Regions from separate parts of the Homo sapiens genome. Here regions 1, 2, 3 and 4 are each linked to region 5. Evidence: promoter capture Hi-C in 16 types of primary human blood cells and fetal thymus (Javierre and others, 2016). All regions are on one chromosome and are shown on one strand. The core of a region is centred on a gene start or on the middle of the fragment in contact, and the rest is flanking DNA. Distances in the headings are between cores, read along the strand shown. Region 1 overlaps ATAD1 (ATPase family AAA domain containing 1). Region 2 has its middle 22 kb from the start of ATAD1. Region 3 has its middle 5.5 kb from the start of ATAD1. Region 4 overlaps ATAD1 (ATPase family AAA domain containing 1). Region 5 holds the start of LIPF (lipase F, gastric type).

Evidence for each region. Contacts are between HindIII fragments. The CHiCAGO score rates a contact against its expected background, and 5 or more counts as called.
Region 1: a contact is called between a fragment that was not itself captured here and the fragment with the promoter of LIPF in region 5, in 1 of 17 cell types (neutrophils). The highest score is 6.6, in neutrophils.
Region 2: a contact is called between a fragment that was not itself captured here and the fragment with the promoter of LIPF in region 5, in 1 of 17 cell types (neutrophils). The highest score is 6.3, in neutrophils.
Region 3: a contact is called between a fragment that was not itself captured here and the fragment with the promoter of LIPF in region 5, in 1 of 17 cell types (neutrophils). The highest score is 5.7, in neutrophils.
Region 4: a contact is called between a fragment that was not itself captured here and the fragment with the promoter of LIPF in region 5, in 1 of 17 cell types (neutrophils). The highest score is 7.8, in neutrophils.

The regions. Positions count from the first base shown.
Region 1 is chr10:87,789,698-87,792,397 of GRCh38, forward strand. ATAD1 (ATPase family AAA domain containing 1) reads right to left here. Exons shown (of 10, transcript NM_001321967.2): 4 at 613-733. The region is part of intron 1 of LOC124902476 (a long non-coding RNA gene); the gene reads left to right. Among named protein-coding and RNA genes, the nearest start is that of ATAD1, 27 kb to the right of the region's middle. The HindIII fragment of the contact is 4,695 bases long and covers 1-2,700 here.
Region 2 is chr10:87,838,981-87,841,680 of GRCh38, forward strand. It overlaps a transcript of ATAD1 not described here and the pseudogene CFL1P1. Among named protein-coding and RNA genes, the nearest start is that of ATAD1, 22 kb to the left of the region's middle. RefSeq lists a silencer at 2,272-2,566. The HindIII fragment of the contact is 1,798 bases long and covers 359-2,156 here.
Region 3 is chr10:87,822,405-87,825,104 of GRCh38, forward strand. It overlaps a transcript of ATAD1 not described here and the pseudogene CFL1P1. Among named protein-coding and RNA genes, the nearest start is that of ATAD1, 5.5 kb to the left of the region's middle. The HindIII fragment of the contact is 8,192 bases long and covers 1-2,700 here.
Region 4 is chr10:87,805,912-87,808,611 of GRCh38, forward strand. The region is part of intron 2 of ATAD1 (ATPase family AAA domain containing 1); the gene reads right to left. Among named protein-coding and RNA genes, the nearest start is that of ATAD1, 11 kb to the right of the region's middle. The HindIII fragment of the contact is 2,747 bases long and covers 1-2,700 here.
Region 5 is chr10:88,663,173-88,665,872 of GRCh38, forward strand. LIPF (lipase F, gastric type) reads left to right here and starts at 1,270. Exons shown (of 10, transcript NM_004190.4): 1 at 1,270-1,319. The HindIII fragment of the contact is 12,070 bases long and covers 1-2,700 here.

The DNA of each region.
Region 1 (2,700 bases), core at 83-2,582, 870 kb before region 5:
GGTGACACAGTGAGACCCCATCTCAAAAAGAAAAGAAAAGAGAGAAAAGAAAAAAAAAGAAAGATTTGAATGAACAAGAATTACACTTAATGATGCAGTTATGAGCATATTCAATTCTTGAGTTCCAAGACTTTCAAAGTGATTTTGAATAAGCAAACATCTCCATCAAAGTTAAATATTTAATTTCTAGTTCATCTGCAGATAAATATTTCCTGAAAAAGAATCATTACATTCTAAAAATAAGATCGTTGGAGCTGTGAAACAAGAAAAAAATGTCTTGGCTTGAAAACAAAACAAAACAAAACAAAAAACTTGTATTATGACTTTGAATCTTTCTTTAATCTTGATTTTCCAAATTTTAATTTACTTGGAAGTAAGAGAAAAGAAATTGAAGGAGATTATTTTAACAAGTATTTTAACATGTAAATACAGGAAAAAGTTTATCTCAATTTCAGAAGCTGAAGAATGAGCAATTATTTTAAGAAACTGTTCACATAGATCTCAGCATCCTCTTGAGAATCTGATTTCACAAAAACTAGTTCTACAATGGCAGAAAGTTTCAATGTTTTCTAGGATTTTAATGCTTTAGGCGAATATATACCTTTACCATACCTTTTGGAGGCTGCAGAAGCCTGGAATTCTCAAACAAATGTTTCTTTTTGATAGGTAAGATGACTGTGTCTTTCAGATCCGTAATGACATCATCTAAACCTGCTATATCACTCCAAGTAACCTGGCAAAAGTTAAGGTCAACATGAATTTTACTACAAATGTACACTCACTAAAGTAAAAAGAACGCTCCCAAAATTACAAATGTTAATCTGATGATTATACATAAATAAGTTAAAATCATATATTAACATAAGTAAAGACTTTTCCAAGCAGTAATGAAATAAACTGCTATGAAACTGGAAAAAGGAATTTAATAGTCAACTATCTACTATTAAAAATCTGTAAGTCAGGTACTCAAAAATCTGCAAGGGTCTAATAAGCTAAATTCATTCCACTTGTAAGGAGAAAATACTCTGCTGCAAGAATACTGAGAACCAGCTGAGACATAATTTAGCACTGGCTGATGGGAAAGAGCTCATCAGGAATGTACCTATTTTATACAGGATGTTGTCAAGCATCACAGAAATTAATTTTAGAAATAAGGTCTTACAAAACATAGCTTCTGAATTTTATCCATCAAAAGTAAACCTATGGACCAGGCGTGGTCGCTCACGCCTGTAATCCAGCACTTTGGGAGGCCAAGGTGAGCGGATCACTTGAGGTCAGGAGTTCGGGACCAGCCTGGCCAACATGGTTGAAACCCCGTCTCTACTAAAATTACAAAAAAAAAAAAAAAAAAAAAAAAATTAACCAGGTGTAGTGGTGTGTGCCTGTAGTCCCAGCTACTTGGGAGGCTGAGGCAGGAGAATTGCCAGAACCTGGGAGGCGGAGGTTACAGTGAGCCAAGATCATGCCACTGCACTCCATCCTAGGTGACAGAGTGAGACTCTGTCTCAAAAAAAAAAAAAAAAAATTACAACTATGTTAAAACTTAAGGAAGTATCTTTATAAATAAAAACAGGGCATACGTATTTTCAAAATAGACAAGAAAAACCTGATTCAACTTGTCCTGAAAGGACTGGCACTTGTCCTGAAAGGAGCTGGAGTTGGGGCCAATCAGAAGCAATACTTTACAATAGATTCATTTCCTTCAAAATGTAAAAAAAAATGATAAAAAGGGAAGGTGCAAACCAGCAGCCAGATCTGAAAAAAAAAATAACTTTCACTGTAACAGCAACAAAAAACTAAGTCTGTTAGTACAGATTTATTCAGAAATTAATATAGGCAGGGTTCCAAGAAGGTACCATTGTAAATCTATAAACCAAATTCAAATGCAGGCTTAATTCTAGGGTGTGTGTATGTCTCTGTATACACAGATATTAAGACATTGCAGACTTTTATTTTCTAGATATGGAGATGGGACTACTTCATTCTACTTATTTATAGCAATATAACATTAATGTATTAGGCAAATATTTTCTATTTATAGAATTTATAAATGTATACTTATTGTTACAAAATATTGATATAGGATCTTATACATTACATCAATCTCATCCTCAAAATAATCCTTATGAAGTAGGTAAAGTAGGTATTATTATCTCTAGATTATACATGAGGGAACTGAGACTCAAAGAGGAAATCATTTGCCAAGGCCATTAATGGAAAACCTGGGATTTAGTATCCTGTGTTATCATACCATATTATGAAAATTTAGGTTTAAACTCTATAAAACAAAAATCCACATGACTTAAAGCAGTACGCTTTATACACCACAAAGGCAAATACATAAAAGTTTTACTAAACAAATGCGTACAGAAAAGAGTTAACAAAGTAGGCCTGAGACTGTTGTCCTTAGAAAGGCATATTTGCAAGATTGGCCCTTGGCTGGCATGTGGGAACTTAGATTTCAGAAGAGTGCCACAATTTCTTGACAAGAACAGCTCACTGTGCCTAAACTGTTTGTGCAAACAATATGGTTTATGGTGAAACATCCATTTTCCTTCTGGGAGTCTAGAATTTTGGTACATTTAAGGGAAGAGGAAAGCTATATAACCAGCCCCCAATAAATATGTTGGGGACTGAGTCTCCCGTGAGCTTTCCTGGTGACAACACTGCACATGTGTTGTCACAACTTGATGCACTAAT
Region 2 (2,700 bases), core at 8-2,507, 820 kb before region 5:
CACTACATATTGCCTCATTCTTCCCAATTCAGTCACTACTTTTCTTTATAATTCTACCTGTACATGTTTTCTGCAAGATTTATAACAAATTATACTTAGCTGAATTTCTAGACAGAAATAGAAACAAATCCCCCAACACTAGATGGATAGCTTTAGAGATCCAATAATTTTGTGCCATGTAGTTGTAACACTTCAAATATATATATTTTGGTATGTCTTTTTTGAATTAATTTATTGCTTAATTGTTTGGTCTTCAGTCACCTTGACTAAATTTGCCTGATGTTTCTCTGTAAATAATCTCAAGGCTAGGTGACCTAGGTCCTGTTTGGGCCAATTATTTTTATTTTTATCTCTGAGAAGCTTGCCTCAAAGAGAACTTATGGTTAGGAGCCAACAGTCCATTTCTTTCACATACATCCTGTTAAACTATAAGAAACGAGGATCGTATTGAATAATATAAATGAGTAGAAGGAAGATAAAGCAATTTGCTTGTCTTCTGCAGATAGTAGTTTTAAATAAATTTTTATCTAATAGTAAACAGAACATGAGTAATTCTTGACCATCAAGAGAAGGACAAGTCCTTATAATTGGAGTGGAACTGGACTAGAACTAGGCTATTGTCTCAAGTGGGACGAAGACTCTAGAATAGATCAGTGAGCTTTGTACCTAAGGCAATTTCATGTTATGCTCTATTGCTTTCCACCAAATGGGCTTCTTTCTTTCTTCCCCCCCGCCGCCCCCAGTAATCTTCTCCATCTCATCCATTCCCTCTTCTTTTTCTCTTCCTCACAGTTTTTATATCTGTGAACCTGGATGAATTAGTAGATTTAAAGAAGTAATGGGATTGTAAAAAGCTGCTGATCTTTATCCTCTTTAAAAATCTGTCAACACCTCTCATCTTTTCCTTGTATGCTGCCTTCCTATTCCTGTTCCACCTTTCCATATTGTCCTTCACTTCATGGCCAGGCTTTAGCCCTGCCAGTGGTGGCCAGAGACATGAATTAACTCTGTTTGAGTCATTTAGGAATAAAAAGATTATTACTGACCTCAATTCTAGAATAAAAATACTGTAGTTTTTCTCTCCCACACTATAATTTTACTAAAATGTTACATTGTTCCAGAGTTAATCAGGATACTCTGTGAAATTAAACCTTAATTGTGATTTGGCTACTTCCATCTTAGAGAAAATTAAAAGAGAAATATTAGAAAATGATAATTTCAGGCTGGATGCAGTGGCTCATGCCTATAATCCCAACACTTCGTGATGACAAGGCGGGAAGATTGCTTGAAACCAAAGGTTTGAGATGAGCCTGGGCAACATAGTGAGACCCTGTCTCTAAAAATAAAAGTAAAAAATTAGCCGGGTGTTGTGGTGTGCCCCTGTAGTCCTAGCTACTTGAAGGCTGAGGTGGGAGGATCACTTGAGCCCAGGAGGTTGAGGCTGCAGTGAGCCATGATTGCGCCATTGCACTCCAGCCTAGGTGACAGAGTGAGACCCTATCTCTGAAAAAGAAAAAAGAAAATGATAATTTCATCAGAACTTGTTTGAAAGAGAAACGTTAGTTTCTTGAACAAAATTAGGAGTGCACATTTGAGGGAATTTTGGTTATTTCTACTGCAACTGAGGAAACAGGTATATTACTATGTTTGATTTGTAATTAACTAGGCCTCATAGCCCTTTTTTCACCCCTTCAGGGAACAGAATATTTCTTAAGTTTGACATTTCCTCTGTTGATGTTCCCTTTGGAAAACATAAAATATAAATAGTGATTAAGGTCTTTCCAGATAGTGTCCCATACCAAAGTGTAGAAAGAACATACATAATGTCCCATACCAAAGCGTAGAAAGAACATAACATGACATGATAATGTAAAGTAATATATGATGATATTTTTATCTCAGGGCTATATTATATCCAGCTGATAAGTTGTATTTGTATGTTTGTTTATAATTGAAAAAGTATGTAGTCTTTTAGTCACGGAGCTTATGAGTACTTAACTGAGCATCTCTCTGATACGTAAAAAAACTGCTAGCATGAGAAGTACAAAGGTACAAAGATTTACCTAGTAATTTTTTTTTTTAATCTCTAAGAAACTTCAGTGGAAGCAGGACTGCTTCCACTGTAGTGAAAGCTAAGATGTAGTTAGGAGTTGTCAAGCTTTACACTAGAGCCTATATGAAGTTTTGATTCTAAGTGTTAATGTACCTTCTGACAACTGTGAATGAACCTTGTTCCTGGGGAGCGCGTTCTGGTTTTCTCTTTGCACAGTTAAGCTGAGACTAGCATCATTCTAGTTTGCAGGTGACATTCTCTGGGAAGCTAGTCTATGGGGGAGATGACATCTTCTGAACCTAGTCCCCACAGAGAACTTTGAATGAGTGGAATCAAGAGGTTGCCTGCATTCTTGCTCATGTCACAATGCTGGACATGTGACTTCAGAGAAGCATGTGCCAGGTCAATATGATTGGGCTGTTCTCACAATACAAGGCCTTGACCATAGAGTGATTCAGAGGCAAATGCAGCCTTCTTAGACTCTTAACCAAAACATTGGCATGACATAAAATTATAATTAATAAAAGATATACAGTTATTTCAAAAGTACCGTTTTATTGGGACATCTCAAAGGACTAAGAAAATGTTTATTTTCTTATCTCCTATCTTTTGTTAATAGCTGTTCATCGCTCATCAGCCTTTACTGA
Region 3 (2,700 bases), core at 96-2,595, 840 kb before region 5:
CCAATAGAAAGATAATATAGAACACAATGGAGTACTATTCAGCCATTTAAAAAAATGAGATCCTGTCATTTGCAACAACATGGACAGAACTGTAGGACATTATGTTGAGTGAAATAAGCCAGGCACAGAAAGACAAACTTTGCATGTTCTCACTCATTTGTGGGAGCTAAAAATTAAAACAGTTGAACTCATGGAGATAGAGGGTAGAATGATGGTTATCAGAGGCTGGGAAGAATAGTGGTGGGGGGTAGGAGGGAAGTGAGAATGGTAATGGGTACAAAAATACAGTTAGATAGAAAAAATAAGATCTAGTATTTGACAACACAGCAAGGTGACTACAGTCAACAGTAATTTATTGTGCATTTTTAAATAACTAAAAGAGTATAATTGGAATGTCTGTAACAAAGAAATGATAAATGCTTGAGGTAATGGATACCTCATTTACCCTGATGTGATTATAACACATTGTATGCCTGTATCAGCATATATCATGTAATCCATAGATACACACACCTACTATGTACCCATAAACTTTTTTAAAAAATGAAAAAAAAGCTAAACTAAAAAATAAAAATAAGAAAGAATAAGATAGAATCAAGGAAAAAATAATGGAAATTTAAAATTTCAAAAGATTGGAAGAAGTAGAAAGATGAATTGATAACTCCATTCTGTAAAAAGAAGAGAACTAAAAAAAAAAAAAGACAACAGCAAAGTTCAAAGAACATATTGCTGTAAATCTACTTTCCATGGTTTTATGTTTTTAAACTTTACACATAATTTTAAATGAGTGTATATAAAAAGAAGTTATATATAATTTTCTTGTGTTATCAGGGTAATACTAATCCACAATCTGCATTTCTACGTAACCTTTTTCTCAAGCAGCATTGCCAAGTGTACTTTTTAAAAACTTCTACCAAAAAATGTTTTCTAGAACTTGGAAATTTACAACCTACAATATTTTATTTAGCTTTAATACAGTACTGTTCAAATGATACTATCTGTGAAAAATCAGGATTGAACAAAACCAGAATTGCTTCAGATGTCTAACCCTACTGTAGCCTCATTAGCAGAAGTTTTAAGGCGTAGATGAAAGAGTGATCCCCCTAGGATTAAATTGGGACCTTCATAATGCCCCTGCCTATGGTTTCTTAAATGGGGAGGAGGTGGGAAAGATTGAGTAAGAATAACAAAGATACAAATGCATTAGTTAAAATAGAAGAAACAATAGTTGAAATGTTAATTCTCAATTCCTGTAACAACAGATTGATAGATGAGGCATAAAACAAGACCAGATGCTGTGGTTTTCAGGATGCACTTGGCTTCCCATCCTTTATAACCTAGAGCAATTTTTGCTGTAAGTAGGTCACTTGCCTTCTCTCATTTACCTGATTCTAGGAAAATGCCCTTGAAAGTATTTAGAAAATAATAGGTACTGGTACTTAATATTTTAAAAATTAAGATCGCATAAAACCTTCCTCCTCCCACCCGTTTCTCTAATAGCCAGAATAACTGATAACCTTGAAACATATGTGAAACTAAAATGAACAAGAATAATTTGAGGTCTTTTATCTTCTAAGCACAAGTACACTAAACTCTGTGTCCATTCTGTTAGTTCCCGTAATTCACTTTGGTTAGCACTGGCATAGTACTCAGCTCACAGAATTATAGTTGAAGTCTTTATTCTCCTATAATATATTATCATCTTGAAAAAAGAGGATGCCTAGAACATAGGAGAGGCTTAACAAGATTTAACCTGACTAGAGAGAAAAGAGGATGCCTAGGACATAGGAGAGGTATAGATTTAACCTGATTAAAGAGGAAAAAAAAGGGAAGGGGGGAGGAAAGACAAGTGGTCCAAAGGTATGACATACGATTCAAACCATTTTACTGATGATAATTATATGATTGCCCTATCCTGATGTGTCCATTAGAAACTAGTCCAATCGGGGAGTCTTGGTATCTATAGGGTATAAGAACGTGAACTTGACAGACCTGGGTTTGAATTTAAGATCTACTGTATACTGACTCTGTTAATTTGGACAAGTTACTTATGTTCTCAAGCCTCAGTTTCCTTATATTTAATATGGGAACAGTAACAGTACACATGCCATGGACTTGCACTAAGAATTCAATGAGACAATACATGTACAGTGCTGAGCTCAATGCCTGGCACTTAGCAAGTGCTCAGTAAACATGCTGGTGTAATACCTCAGATGTTATTTTCATTATACGATGAGGTGATATTCTCTCATTCCTAGATTCTGTAAGGACAATGATCTTTTCATATCTCCTCTGTGTTTGCATGAGGACCTTACCTCTTCAGTTTTCAACCATGGCATCTTGTCTGAAATGTTTATCTTCTCTGACTTGTGAAGAGGCTGTGCCTCTCTGTCCTGCTGACCTCTTGGTTCTCACATTCCCATTCTTAATACACCCCTCTGGCTGAGTCTTACTGATCAGTAGTCTATAAAACATTTATGATAGTTATATAAAACCTGTAAGATTTCATCCCTACGACCCAAAGATAATAAAGTTTAACGTATTTATCGATCCATGAAAATTATGGATATTTCTCAGTTCAGAGACCATCATTAATATTGGCTGTTATTCCCATCTGTCAAGTAACAATCATTTATTGAGTATACATTCTTTGCTTTTATGAATTTCTAAAGATTGAAACATCTTATAAAAATGCAAGTC
Region 4 (2,700 bases), core at 79-2,578, 860 kb before region 5:
CCTCATGACCTCTTCTTCTCCTTGACCATTCTATAACACGTTTAAAATCAATTCTCTTTTGCAACCTTCTCCTTCTTTGGCTATGGTGACTTTATGCAAGTGATTCCCCAGACAGTGGGAAAGAAGTGAGAAGAGGGATAACCAAATAATCTCTGAGGTTTTAAAAAATTATATTTGCCACCCCACAAACTTCCCCAAATTCTGATTATTTCTTTGCAGAACATAGTGTTTCAGTTGACAATCACTGCCACAGTGAACCACTATGACTGTCTGCAGTACTCTGTGTACTTCAGATGTATTCATGTAGAAAAGACTATCACCAGTACCCTAAACATCATCTTGGTTTTATTCTCACTCCTCTGGTCATTTTTTTTTTTAAGTTCTTACAGTGCTTTTACTAATAACTAGGTAGATAAAATAATATCTTAGACTGTTTAGATGAGGTATAAAGAAACACAATATAATCAATACCAATCCAGGTTTAAGAACAAGAACATTATTATTATCTTTCAAGTCCTTCGGTGAGGCCCTCTCCAAATACAGATCTTCTCGTCTCCCAGAAAAAAAAATCACAATCCTAAATTGAAATCATCTCTTGCTTTTCTTTAACTTAACCATATGTTTGATTCCCTAAGGTTTAGTTTTACATGTTTCAGAATGTCTACATGGGATCACACTATATGTACTCTTCTGTGACATTTTCATCTCACTATTTCTTAGAGTTGTTGAGCATCTGTATTTCATTCACTTTTCTCCGCGAATATTATGCTCTGGCATGTGCAGACCAAAGTATGCCACTCTGGCATAATAATTATTTTGAGTTGAGGGAAATTTAGAAAAAAACAGATACAAGAAAAGCTATCTGCCCTACTCCTACTTGCCTAAAAACAATAAATTCACAAAGGTCTCCCTCCTCTTCTCTTTACGAGGAAGGACGAAAGTTAATCAAAGGAGACAACTTTAGACACTTAGCCAGAGGAATCTGCATAACAAACTTTACCAACTAGTCTTCATCTACCATTAGTTTCCCACAGTTTGCTGCCCCTAGAGACTCCTTTTCTTTTGTCTGATCGCTTCTTTAAAAATTTGTTTCTTTGCCAAGATACTATATACACTCAAGTTCTAACCAAACTTTTGAGTTACTCATCTCTGGTACTCCTATTGGTTGCATGCTTGATACATGTTAATAAACTTGTTTGTTTTTCTCTTGTTTATCTATCTTTTGTTATAGAGGCCCAAATGAGAATTCAGAACGGTAGAAGGAAAAGTGTTTTTCCTCTCCTATATGTGCATATACCAACATTTATACAAATATTCAGATTGGTTCCTGCTTTTTTCCATTACAAGCAGGGCTGCTATGAGCACTCTTGTATGTATCTCCTGGTTCTTCGCTATATGCCCAGAATGAAACTTGTGGATCACTGACTATGCACATTTTCAACTTTACTAGATAATGCCAAACTATCTTCCAAAATAGTTATACTAATTTATATTCCCAACAGCAATACTTTTGTTCCTACTGTTCCACATTCTCTCCAGCACGTTATTGACAGACTTAAAACTTTACAACCTGGCAGGGGTGAAAAGGTATATCAATTTGACTTTAATTTGCATTTCCTTGATTTCTAATCAGTTTGTGCATCTTTTCATATGTTTATTGACCACTGGAGATTTTTCTTTTTTAATGTGTCTATTTAAGTTTCTTTGCCCATTTTTCTATTATTTTTTCTTACTGATTCAGATGCATTCTATATATGTCCTCAGTACAAATCTTTTAAGTTATAAAAATAATAGGAAACACTTATGCAGCACTGTTATATTTTACATTATATATTTAATTTCAATAGCAACCCAACAAGGTAAGTGCTATTATTATTTCTTTTACAGATAAGAAAACTCAAGACCCAAAGTAGTTAAATAAAACTTTGTGTTTTAGGATTGCCTTCCCTATTTATAGACTTTTGTTCTTCCACATGAATTTCAGGAAAAAATACAACAAAACGAAAATCTGCCAGTATTTTTGTACTGATGTTGAATTTAACTAAACTTTCAATAGTTTTATAATTTTCTCTATGAATGTGTTGTATGTCTTATGTTTGTCCGTTGTTTTATATTTTTGATGCTACTATATAATGCTTTTTTTAAATGACATTTTAAAACATGATGGGTATACAGAAACAGCTGATTTTCGTATACTGATTTTAAATCCAGCAAACCCATCAAACTCTCATGAATCCTGATAGCTTGTAAACATTCTTTGGCTTTCTATGTAGATTATCATATTATCCATTAATAATGACTATTTAGTTTCTTCTTTTCCAATCCCCACCTTTTTGACTTAGGCAGTGGCTAGTAACTCAGTAAAATGTTAAACAGAAGTAAAAGTAAACAAAGAAGTAAACAAAGTAAACAAAGAAAAGCCAAAAAAAAAAAAAAAGTAATGAAAAGTAATGAAAGACAACAGGCTTGCTCCTAATCATAAAGAGAATGTTTCCAATTCTTCACTATAAAATACATTTGTTTTAGTAAATGCATTTTATCAAGTTAAAGATCGCCTGAAGCCGGGAGGCAGAGGTTGCAGTGAGCCAAAATCATGCCACTGCACTCCAGCCTGGGCAACAGAGCAAGGCTCCGTCTAAAAGAAAACACAAAAAACAAAACAAAACAAAAAGAACACTATCTTCTGTTCCCATTTTATTA
Region 5 (2,700 bases), core at 20-2,519:
ACCCCAAGGATTGTAAATCATTCCACTGTAGGGAACACATGCACACATATGTTTATTGCAGCACTATTCACAATAGCAAAGACTTGGAACCAACCCAAATGCCCATCAATAATAGACTGGATAAAGAAAATGTGGCACATATACACCATGGAATACTATGCAGCCATGAAAAAGGATGAGTTCATGTCCTTCACAGGGACATGGATAAAGCTGGAAAGCATCATTCTCAGCAAACTAACACAGGAAGAGAAAACCAAACACCGCATGTTCTCATTCATAAGTGGGAGTTGAACAATGAGAACACATGGACACAGGGAAGGGAACGTCACACACCAGGGCCTGCCAGGGGCTAGGGGACAATGGGAGGGATAGCACTAGGAGAAATACCTAATGTAGATGATGGGTGGATTGGTGCAGCAAACCACCATGGCGCATGTATACTATGCAGCAAACCTGCACATTCCGCACATGTATCCCACGAGCAACAGATGCTCATGATGGTTGTAAAGGATCAACTGTATTTTAAAACATAATTTAATATATACTTTTAATAAACACATTCATATTGTTCAAACTATAACCCATAGATTTTTTTGTTTCCTTTTTTTTAACTTTTATTTTAAGTTTAGGGGTACAAGTGCAGGTTTGTTACATAGGTAAACCTGTGTCCTGGAGATTTGTTGTACAGATTGTTTCATCGTCCAGGTATTAAGCCTAGATTTCTTAGAAGGAAAAAGACACCAAAAATATGTTCTTAAAGGTCAAGGGCTGGGTTTTGTATGATAGCTAGACCATTATCTGTAGGATTTGAGACCCTGGTCAAAGACCATAATAAAATATTAATCTTTGCTGAACACATTCACTTATCTAACCATCTAGTCAAAATAGCTTATGCGCTGCATTTTTAAAGAATAACAGGTGGCCTTTTGTCATTTTATGCCTCTCTATCTGAGCCAAACTATATAATCATTTGCATTATACCTTTGGCTCAAAAACGTTTATATGTTTAGGCTATCAAGGATTATTTTTAATGGTTCCTAAATCATTTTAATCCTCAGAACTACTTTGGCCAATATTTGTCTTTGTTAAAAGTTAAAGGTGAGCACTCAGTATTATGTGAAAATGAATGCAATATTTAATTTTTAGTTTTGTCCTGTTAACATTAGATGATGCCCAGATAGTAAGTCTTTTTGGTAATGTAATCAGTGGATGAGGAATCTGACCATTGTTGAAGGTTTTGTATATAAGAAGTCAATACAACATTGACCAAAATACTAACCAGCCAGAGAAACAGAATCCTAACTATTTCTGAGGAAACTGTAAGTAGAACTTCTGCTGAACAAAATTGTTATTTGAATTATTAGATTTTTTCTTTATCCCAAGTGATGCATTTTTAAAGGCTTAGATATTTGTTGCATATTCACCTGCATAAATGTATCTGTTTAAATTATGGCTTATTCCTCTAGGATTTGATTTATTTTATTCTTTTTTTTGTATGGACATGAGACTCTTAATTATGGAATGACAAATTTGTTTATTATTGCAATTAGTGCCTAATGTGAAAGTCTCATAATTTCTTAACTATTGAATTACAAATTTGTTTATTAAGTTCCTAATGTGAAAGTCTAGTCTCTGTGACTCTTCTTTTTGAGAAGGAATAGATCAGTAATCTAGTGACATATAATTGGCTGTATTAATATGCTATGTTTAATATTTAATATCATCCAAATCAACTGCTGTTGAATTGATCATTATTAATACGATTGTGAAACCTTATAGGCTATTAAAACATTTATTTAAATTATAAACTTTTCAAAACAGAAGTCTAGACCAAATTATATAAATCTCCCTGGGGATGTCCCTATAAAAGCTGGCCCAGGGTCATACTGAAGGAGTATTACAGTGGGGAAGAACATAGCCTTTGGAAATAGACTAGTTTAAAATATGGGCTCCACTACTTTCTATATATTTGGTTGGGCGAGTCCTCTTTTAGCCTTACCTTGCTTATTTGTAAAATGGATAATATAATGCTACCTACTTCATAGAGTTGCTATGAGAATTAAATGAGATAATAGTCATAATAACTATATTTAACTAACGTTTATGAGATGCCCAGCATGTTAAGAACTTTACTTTTGTTATCATAATGAATTCCCCTAACATAGAGAAATGTACTATTACAGGCCCTGTTTTATAGATGAGAACACTGTCTTAGCAAGATAGTTCATTTCACGTATACCATGTTGAACACACAGTACAGCACACAGTGAGTCCTCTGTATGTGTTAATTACTGGTATTTTCCTAGGACTTGGCAACAAGCATTTTGAGAAATTTATTCTGCCCTTGAACATCTTTGAGCCCATTGAGATGTTCTCCAACGCAAACAGTAGGTTAAGTGTCCTCACTTTACAATGGCAAATCACTTAATGGAGGTCATGTGGGTTCCTGAAATGTTTGATGAAAGCCTCTGGTTTGAATGTTACAACACTACTGGTTAGTCTTTATATATTAGTTTATCTCTTCCTAAAATATCACGGTAAAAACAAGGCTTAGTTAAAAACTGATTTTTTTTTTTTTTTTTTTTTTTTGAGACGGAGTCTCACACTGTCTCCTGGGCTGGAGTGCAATGGTGCGATCTCCGCTCACTGCAACCTCCGCCTCCTCGGTTCAAGGACTCTTGCGTCTCAGCCTCCCAAGTA